2 separate regions of the Homo sapiens genome follow, and region 2 is linked to region 1. Evidence: promoter capture Hi-C in 16 types of primary human blood cells and fetal thymus (Javierre and others, 2016). All regions are on one chromosome and are shown on one strand. Each heading gives the region's core, a stretch centred on a gene start or on the middle of the fragment in contact. The rest is flanking DNA. Distances are from core to core; before and after follow the strand shown.

What was found. The method cuts DNA at HindIII sites, captures the fragments that hold promoters and counts their contacts. A CHiCAGO score of 5 or more calls a contact.
Region 2: a fragment that was not itself captured here is called in contact with the fragment with the promoter of CXADR in region 1 in 3 of 17 cell types (M0 macrophages, M1 macrophages and M2 macrophages); the score reaches 6.9 in M0 macrophages.

The regions. Positions count from the first base shown.
Region 1 is chr21:17,511,679-17,516,226 of GRCh38, reverse strand. It overlaps CXADR (CXADR cell adhesion molecule), which reads right to left and starts at 3,184. Exons shown (of 7, transcript NM_001338.5): 1 at 3,055-3,184. The coding sequence starts at 3,097. RefSeq lists silencers at 3,014-3,553, 3,614-3,733. The HindIII fragment of the contact is 5,305 bases long and covers 1-4,310 here.
Region 2 is chr21:17,397,973-17,402,213 of GRCh38, reverse strand. No RefSeq gene overlaps it. Among named protein-coding and RNA genes, the nearest start is that of LINC01549, 39 kb to the left of the region's middle. The HindIII fragment of the contact is 9,913 bases long and covers 1-4,241 here.

The DNA.
Region 1 (4,548 bases), core at 1,935-4,434:
TAACGACTCTGTGCCTCTGTTTCTCTATTTGTACAACAGGGATAAGTATAATAAATACCCTCTCGGGTTGCTTGGTGGATTGAATATATAGGTATGTAAAGCCCTTAGAACAGTATCTGGCATTTCATAACTGATCAAGGGTTTAATTTTACTACTACTGCTACTGCCACTGCTTACTACTGCTGCTACTACTGATTACTAGTAGTATGACTCACTAGTAGGCAGCCAATAAAAATGCATCGAAAGGAGTCCCATCTGCAGCCAGAGTATACCACAAAACTGTTTCAGAGCTGGAGGAATATCTATCACTGACGGTATAATCTGAATGAGTCTTTCCCTTGTTTTGCTAAAGTAGGAGTCAATCATGTTAACAGTGAACTTGAGTTAATAACAATGCCTTTTTTTTTGTTTATTTGTTTCAGAGACGGAGTCTAGCTCTGTCGCCCAGGCTGGAATGCAGTGGCGCGATGTGGGCTCACTGCAAGCTACGCCTCCCGGGTTCACGCCATTCTCCTGCCTCAGCCTCAGCTGGTACTACAGGCGCCTGCCACCAGGCTCGGCTAATTTTTTTGTATTTTTAGTAGGGACGGGGTTTCACCGTGTTAGCCAGGATGGTCTCGATCTCCTAACCTCATGATCTGCCCGCCTCGGCCTCCCAAAGTGCTGGGATTACAGGCGTGAGCCACCGCGCCCGGCCCATACCAATGCATTTCTAAATGGTCAGAAATATCTGAAGAAATAAAGCCATTCATCAATTAGTATGTCTTCTTTTTTTTTTTGAGACAGAGTCTCACTCTGTCGCCCAGGCTCGAGAGCAGCGTCATGATCTTAGACCTCATGAGCTTAGACCTCCCAGGCTCCGGCAAACCTCCCATCTCAGCCTCCCGCGTAGCTGGGACTATGACAAGCATCACTGCACCTAGCTAGTTCTTTTTGGGTTTTATTTTGTTGTATTTTTTGTAGAAATGCGGTCTCGCCATGTTGCCCAGGCTGGTCTCAAACTCCTACACTCAAATGACCCTCCCGTCTCAACCTCCCAAATTGCTGGGATTACAAGCACCGTGCCTGGCCTCAGCTGTTCTTAAACTGAAAAACTGGAATAAAGATAGTTGCCTTGTTTAGCTGAGACACTGGCCCTTCGAGTAGATGTTCACTGTACCCGTGTATACCTTATGAGCACAATGACTCTCTGCATCAAAATATTATTTCTTAGAATTGTGCCTATCAAAGTGAGGCATTCCAAAAAAAAAAAATTAAATCCAATTATCTAAATATTCCCGTTAAAACAACAACAACTAGTTCCTGCCAGGCATGGTGGCTCACGCTTGTAATCCCAGGACTCTGGGAGGCTGAGGGAGGCGGATCACCTGAGGTCGGGAGTTTGAGACCAGCCTGACCAACATGGTTTCTACTAAAAATAAAAAAGTTAGCCGGGCATGGTGGGGGGTGCCTGTAATCCCAGCTACTCAGGAGGCTGAGGCAGGAGAATCGCTTAAACGCGGGGGGCGGAGGTTGTGGTGAGCCAAGATCACGCCATTGCACTCCAGCCTGTGCAACAAGAGCGAAACTCCATTTAAAAAAAAAAAAAAGTTCCTCCACATAATTTATGTTCTTCCACTTTTCTGCTTTAGATGTGGTCTAAAACTATTTTTTTTTTTTTTCCCAGAGAACACACTGTGTTCTCAACTTCATCTTCAGGTTCGGCCTAGACAAAAAAAAGAAAAAAAAGAAAGAAAGGTGGGAATGTACCTGTAAACTGGTTCTATGACCCTTCATCTTCTCCGGAAGGCTTACTTTGGACATTTCAGCCCGCCAAGTCTAAATGATATATATCAAAAAGGTGGAGGTAGTGCTATAGGCTCAGATCGAAGATTAGACTTGCTAATAGAATGTTGATCCCATGAGTAATGCTCACAGCTGTGGCATCCAACAATGGAATTAACATTTCAACAGGAAGCAGAGAGCCATCCCAACAGAAAGGGCCACTAGATCCTGCTTCAGAGCACCTAACAACAAAAAATTACCCTTCCAGAGGCTATACTAAGTGCGCCTCCTAGGATCCCACCTACGGATTTTTAAAAATGAATTATTTGGTTATAAAACGCAGCAAGTGCTTAGTTTGACAAACAAGATCAGTTGGTTAAAACACCGACATGGAAAATCCGTTTTTTAAAGTGTCAAAATGATTACGCCTCCTAATGGTCCACGCATTTTTCACATGCCTTTTTTCCCCTCCCAGAGAAAGGAGCAGTCGACAAACGCACTTGGCAAATCCTCTAGCAATTACCCTGTACAACTCAGCCCGTCTTATCTCCAAAATGAACGACTCATTACAAACTCAAAAACGAGGTCACTGAATTCTCCTTTGCACTTCGCCCAAGGACTGCAGAAACCAATGCTACATTTTTGCAGGAACCCACTTTTGATTTTCCACGGTCTCCTTCACAATGCGCGTCTGGTTAGCAGCTCCTGCCTGGGCGAGCTGCTTCCAGGAGACTAACACCGTCCAGGCTGGCGTTCGCTCAGCGCCTCTTTCCTAGAGGTAGCCTGGCCGATCCGAGGCACCGGGCAGCTCCATGTCCATTGAATAATGGCGTTTGCAATTCAGCCTCCCCGCCTGGGCGACTCGACACCTGAAAACTCGCCGCCCAAGGTTTTTGAAATCGGGTAACGCTGGAGAGAACCGACACGAAGGCTGACAAGGGAGACGGCGAGAGCAAAGAAAGGCAAGCCCGCACCGGGGCAGAGAATGCTATGGGAGAGCTGCGAGGCGCACCCGACACGCCGCGCCCGAGCCCCTCCGCCTCCACCCCCCGCCGAGGGCTCCGTCCCCGGGCACTCCGCGCGCCCTGCGCGGCTCCCTACGGGACGGCTCCAGGAGCGCCCGGCCCAGCAAAAGCGCCCCTGTGCAATTCTGCCCGCCCCGCCGCCCCTGCAGCAGCGCCCCCAAATCGCGCCCGCCCCCTCCCCCACGCCCCATTGTTCCTGGGTGGCCGCGGGCAGCGAGCGCCCCCGGGCTGGGCGGGTGCTGAGGACCCCATGGCCCCTACTCACCCACTACTCCGCACAGGAGCACGAAGCACAGCAGGAGCGCCATGGTGGCTGCCGTGCCGTGGGCGGCGGCTGCAGGTAGGCGGCTCTCGCTCCTGGTCCCAGGCTCCCCGCGCCTCGCGCGCTCCCGACTGGCTCGCGGCGGCGGCGGCACCTCTGCACCCTCCGCCCCTCCTCCCAGCCCCCGCTCGGCAGGTGAACTCGCGTCACTTCCGGCAGCGGCCCGGGCCGGGCTGCGAGCGCCGGCTTCTCCAGCCGCGTGGGGTTGCCTTGGCAACCGGGCGAGGCGCTCTTCTGTCCCCGGGACCCTCCCGGCGCCGAACTCTCAGCCTCCCGGCGCGCGGCGTCGTAGGTCGCGGGCGGCCGCCTCCCACGCCGCAAGCCTGCGCAGGGGTCCCCGCCTCCATCCCTTAAGCTAAACCAGGGTTTTGCGCGCGGGGGTGGGGCAGCCCGTCTCCCACATACTGAAATTGCGTTGGCGCCCTCCTTTAAGGCGAGGCACGGGACACTCCCAGGGGCCGCCACTAGGGCGGCTCCTACCCTCCGCCCCGCCTGCACCCACCCGTCCCACCCCTCGCGGTTTGCCCCAGGGGCAGGTTCTCTGACCTCATGCTCACGGGATGCGACCTGTGCAGCCCCTGGCCTTCGCTCTCTTAACGAGCCGCTCTGGCTGACATAAAAAGCGCGAGAGGGCTTTTCTCCATCTCTGGTAGGGATAGAGCCCCTCTGCAGCTACCGATTTGGGAAATACCTGAGGTTTTTTCCACTTGCACAGAAAGGCTATTCTAGCCCTGAAGCTGGCTAGTAAGACGCTATAGTCCCAGCTACTCCGGAGGCTGAGGTAGGCAGACAACTATTATCCAATATTAGTGAGTGAGCTTTGAAAGTGGGGCTCAGTAGTTGTGGTTGAAGGCGTCAGTTGGAGTGTGGGGTCGGGGAATTGGAGATCTTGAAAGTTGTTGTCGGCTGCTCTTCCAGATAACGTTTATTTATAACTACATAGAGACTTTGTAGTGCCGCGACAGTTCCATAACAGAAATGAATTGAAGAAGAGGAGCGGTGGGTAAGAGCTTATTCCGCGGAGTGGGGCAGTAACTGGGCAGGTTTCATAGAAATGGCACCTACTTCGGGGTTGCTATGAAAGTTAAATGAGATAATGCACAAAAAATGCTTGGCACCCTGCCTGGCACGTAGTTTTAATTAGCTTCCACTTACTGAGTTCTTGCTTACAGGGTTCCTGCTTATGTAGTCTATAAGCTTACATAGTTTGTAAGTTCCTGCTTACTATCTAGACTAAGCAGGAACCCCCGTAAGCAGAATTCAGTAAGTGGAAGCTAATAAAACTAATATTGGAAAATTCTTATTATGCATTGAACCAGAAAAGAGAAGGGGCAAAGAAATCAGGTATCAAGAAGACCAGAATTGCGCAACTGCAGTTTAGCCTGGTGAGTTGCAATTCTGGCTGCACATGAAAATTACTTGGAGAATGTTTTAAAA
Region 2 (4,241 bases), core at 678-3,177, 110 kb after region 1:
ACCGACATGGTTCTATCAAGCATAGGACAGAGAAACTTCCATTTCCCACTATTGCCCCAAAGGTCTGGCTAACGCTGCTCTCTTTAAGAAGCTGCTAACATCTCTAGCTTAAGCAATGTGCAAAACAACTGATGCGAATAAAACGCCTTCCTCCAAGGCCTCTTTTATACACAATTCATTTTCTGGAGTAACATAACCTAGAGATAGCCCCGCAGGTCAACCAGTGGAACATTGGTAACTTCAGTGCCTCAGTAAAGCAACGAACAAGATTTAATGGAAATTAGGCACATTTTTATGGTAAATCAGTTCCATTTGTGAGATTTGCTCACACAGTGTCTAAGAAACCATGATAAGCTAGCAAACTACATTGACAATTGATTCCAAAATCTGCTGTCATATTCTCCTTCCTTCTGACGTGGCATGTTTCTCTCTTAGATGGCAAAATTATAGATCCCTGGGATTCTAGGTAGGAAGAAATAATTTTAAATGTAGGTTGCATAGCAACTTTTTGGGTTTTAGCAAAGCATCTTTGACATTTCTGCCTTCAGAGAGGAACCTAAGGACAATACAAAGGAGGAAAGAAACAGAAAAAACAGTCTCGTTTTTATTTCTAGACTTGCCAATGAAGTGTTAGACAATTTCCTTATTTTCTATTTGATTCCCCAAACACCCAGCCTTTCCTTTTACACTCACCCTTTAACTTTTTTTTTTTTTTGAGACAGGATCTTACTCTGTCACCCAGGCTGGAGTGCAGTGGTGTGATCTCCGCTTACTGTAACCTCCGCCTCCTGAGTTACAGCGATTCTCCCACCTCAGCCTCCTGAGTAGCTGGGACTACAGGTGCGCACCACCACACCTGGCTAATTTTTGTATTTCTTGGTAGAAACAGGATTTCACCATGTTGGTCAGGCTGGTCTTGAACTCCTGATCTCAAGTGATCCACCTGCCTCAGCCTCCCAAAGTGCTGGGATTACAGGTGTGAGCCACTGTGCTCGGCCCTTTAACATTTTTTACTTAAATAAAAAGCAGAACTTTTATTGAGAGTTCCTTAAAATAAAAGTAAAGCCTATTAGCTCATTCCTAAATCACAGAATAATATAGTTATATAAATCTGTGGCACGCAAAAATACAGTTTTCATACACAATTGCATTGTGTATGAAATTGCAAGCTAAAGCTAGTGAATTGCAAGCTAAATTGTGAATTGCATTGTGTATGAATTGCATTGTGTCTGAAATTGCAAGCTAAAGCTGGTGAATTGCAAGCTAAAGAGTAAAGTGCATGGATAGAAATAAGACCCACTGCTAATAAGCTGTAGTAAGTTGGAAAAGGCTATTGATCTCTGTGAACAGTTTCTATATCTGTAAATTGGGGTTACTGGTTTTAAGTGCCTCTAATATTCTAGGCCCTAAGATTTTTGTGTATTCTATTCTATACAAATGCAAGATCATAATATAGACAATACCCAAGAAGAAAAGATGAGGAATTCCTGGTTATAATCTGCTAATTTATTTGTCTGTTGTATGGCTTATGGTTTTTCTTTACTGCGTTTCCTAAAGGGACACAAGTGAATTACTATTGTCCTGTAATTTCTGTTTAGAAACCCTTTTCAAAGAGAGAAATCCTGCTAGCTCTCACTGGCCTTTGATTTGACAGTGTCACCGAAAAAAAATATATATCTGCCGGTGATTTAACAAAGTCCAGACTCTTGAGTGAAAGGGCAGAACCCAGGGGGTTGATCTGATTTTCCAGATCCTTTAATGTGAATTGAATGCAAGCTCACAAGGATGTCTTTCATTGGCTAACATCTTCCCTTTCTTCTCATATCCCAAATAAGAGGAGACAGTGCAGAACCTGGGTCATGTGAAAGGGAAAGTAGGCATGCCTGCATACTCTTTCCCCATGCCTCAAGAAATAAGAGGAAAGAGAGTTCTGTGTTTGTTGATTGCCTTACTGAAGTAAGCCACTTACTGTGGTAAAGCATATGTGAAGGCCTTACTGTTTTATCTTTTCTTTCTTTCTTTCTTCTTTCTTTCTTTCTTTATTTCTTTCTTTCTTTCTTTCTTTCTTTCTTTCTTTCTTTCTTTCTTTCTTTCTTTTCTTTCTTTCTTTCTTTCTTTCTTGCCTTTCTTTCCTTTCTTTCTTTCTTTTCTTTTGTTTGACGGAGTTTCGCTTTTTTGCCCAGGCTGGAGTGAAGTTGAAGTGGTGTGATCTCTCAGCTCACTGCAACCCAACCTCCACCTGACGGGTTCAAGCAATTCTCCTGCCTCAGCCTCCTGAGTATCTGGGATTACAGGTTTACGCAACCACACCCGGCTAGTTTTTGTTAGAGATGGTGTTTTGCTATGTTGATAAGGCTGGTCTCGAACTCCTGACCTCAGGTGATCCACCTGCCTCAGCCTCTCAAAGTATTGTGATTACAGGCATGAGTCACGGTGCCTGGCTGGGCCTTACAGTTTTTACTTTACAGATAGAGAAACTGAGGTATGGCATGATTAATACCTAAAAAATTACACAGCTAGACACTTGTGGAGTAGGAATTCAGTCCTAGATGTGTCTCTACTGCCTCCCCTAAATGCTGGGTCCATGGTGCCATAAAAGCAGGGGGCATCCCATGGCCTGTAGCAATTGTTGACAGTAAGTTAGATTGTTTCTCTGTTTTTAAGTTCAAGGATGTGAGTTGAATTAGTAAATGTTTTATAGTGGAGTCTATTAAAAAAAAAACGCGCAGCTAGGCATGGTGGCTCATGCCTGTAATCCCAGCACTTTGGGAGGCCGAGGTGGGTGGATCACCTGAGGTCTGGAGTTGGAGACCAGCCTGGCCAACATGGCAAAACTCCATCTCTACTAAAAATTAGCTGGGTGTGGTGGTGCACATCTGTAATCCCAGTAACTTGGGAGGCTGAGGCAAGAGAATCACTTGAATCCCGGAGGTGGAGGTTGCAGTGAGCTGAGATTGCACCACTGCACTCCAGCCTGGGCAACAGAGCAAGACTCTGTCTCAAAAAAAAAAGTTATAGGCCGATGCAGTGGTTCATGCCTGTATTTGCAGCATTTTGAGAGGCCGAGGTGGGAGGATTGCTTGAGATAAGGAGTTTGAGACCAGCCTGGGCAACACAGCAAGACCCTGCCTTTAGAAAAAATTAAACAATTAGCTGCAGTGAGCCACGATTGCATCACTGTACTCCAGCCTGGGCAATAGAGTGAGACTCTGTTAAAAAAAGAAAAAAAAGGTGCTTTGAACACCTTCATTAGGAATTTGTGCTGACTGAATTTTTTTGTAACTCTCAATTTTTTTTTAATGGCTTTAAAAGTAAGTGATGCTCAGAGAAGATAAGAAAATATGTACCTATAGTAGAGAGTTTGAGGGCAGGGGGTCCATATCTACCAGGAGGCAGCCTCTGATAACAGTCTTCACACAGGGCTTTGCACAAGTATATCACTGATGAAATTTAGAAAAAAAAAATAGCCTTTTCCCAAACCCCTGAAGGAGGTAAGTCAGTGATGAAGAGGTATTAGCAACACCGTATTTTCTTTAGGCCTAATCAGAACATGTTGGCTAAGATTTCTGAAAATCAAATTACAAACAGGTATTTGGTGCCTTCAGAAAAGGCAATATCTGTTTGGGTGAAGTAGCAGCAACCATAAGAACATAGCAAAGAAAGAAAAGGTGTGGGTGGTTTTTTTTCCCTTTATTTTCACAATTTCATTTTATAGATTGCTCAGTAACATCTGTTGGTTATTGAAAATCCCACGAAGAAAATTAAAGGCCCACGATTCACGGCTTTGCAAACACACACTGCGGAGTGGCTCATTTCTGAATACATAACTACCAGGCATGCTCCAGCATCAGCTCAGTTTGCCCTCGTTTCCTTACTCTTGTAAACGCAAAGGAGGGTGGTTTCTTTTACATAGACTCTGCCTGCCCTTTCCCTGCAACTCACCAAAGCAAAATAAACTACACTTTGGAAAATCCTGTCAAATGTAGCTTGGATTTGATATTTCTATTGACATTTTTAAGTTATACTAGATGAAAACTACATATGTTGCTCTCTCCCTCCCTCCCTTCTTTCCTCTCTCTCCCATCTTTATTTTTGTTTTTACTTTTTGTTCTTATCAAAGATATAAATGTATAAAGCTGAAAGAGTCAAATAATTATGAAAAACAGCAGTTCCCTGTTCCTGTCTGCCCATCTTCTTCTCCCTAGGGAAAACTACATTCCCCCATCTTCCTATCTTCCTTC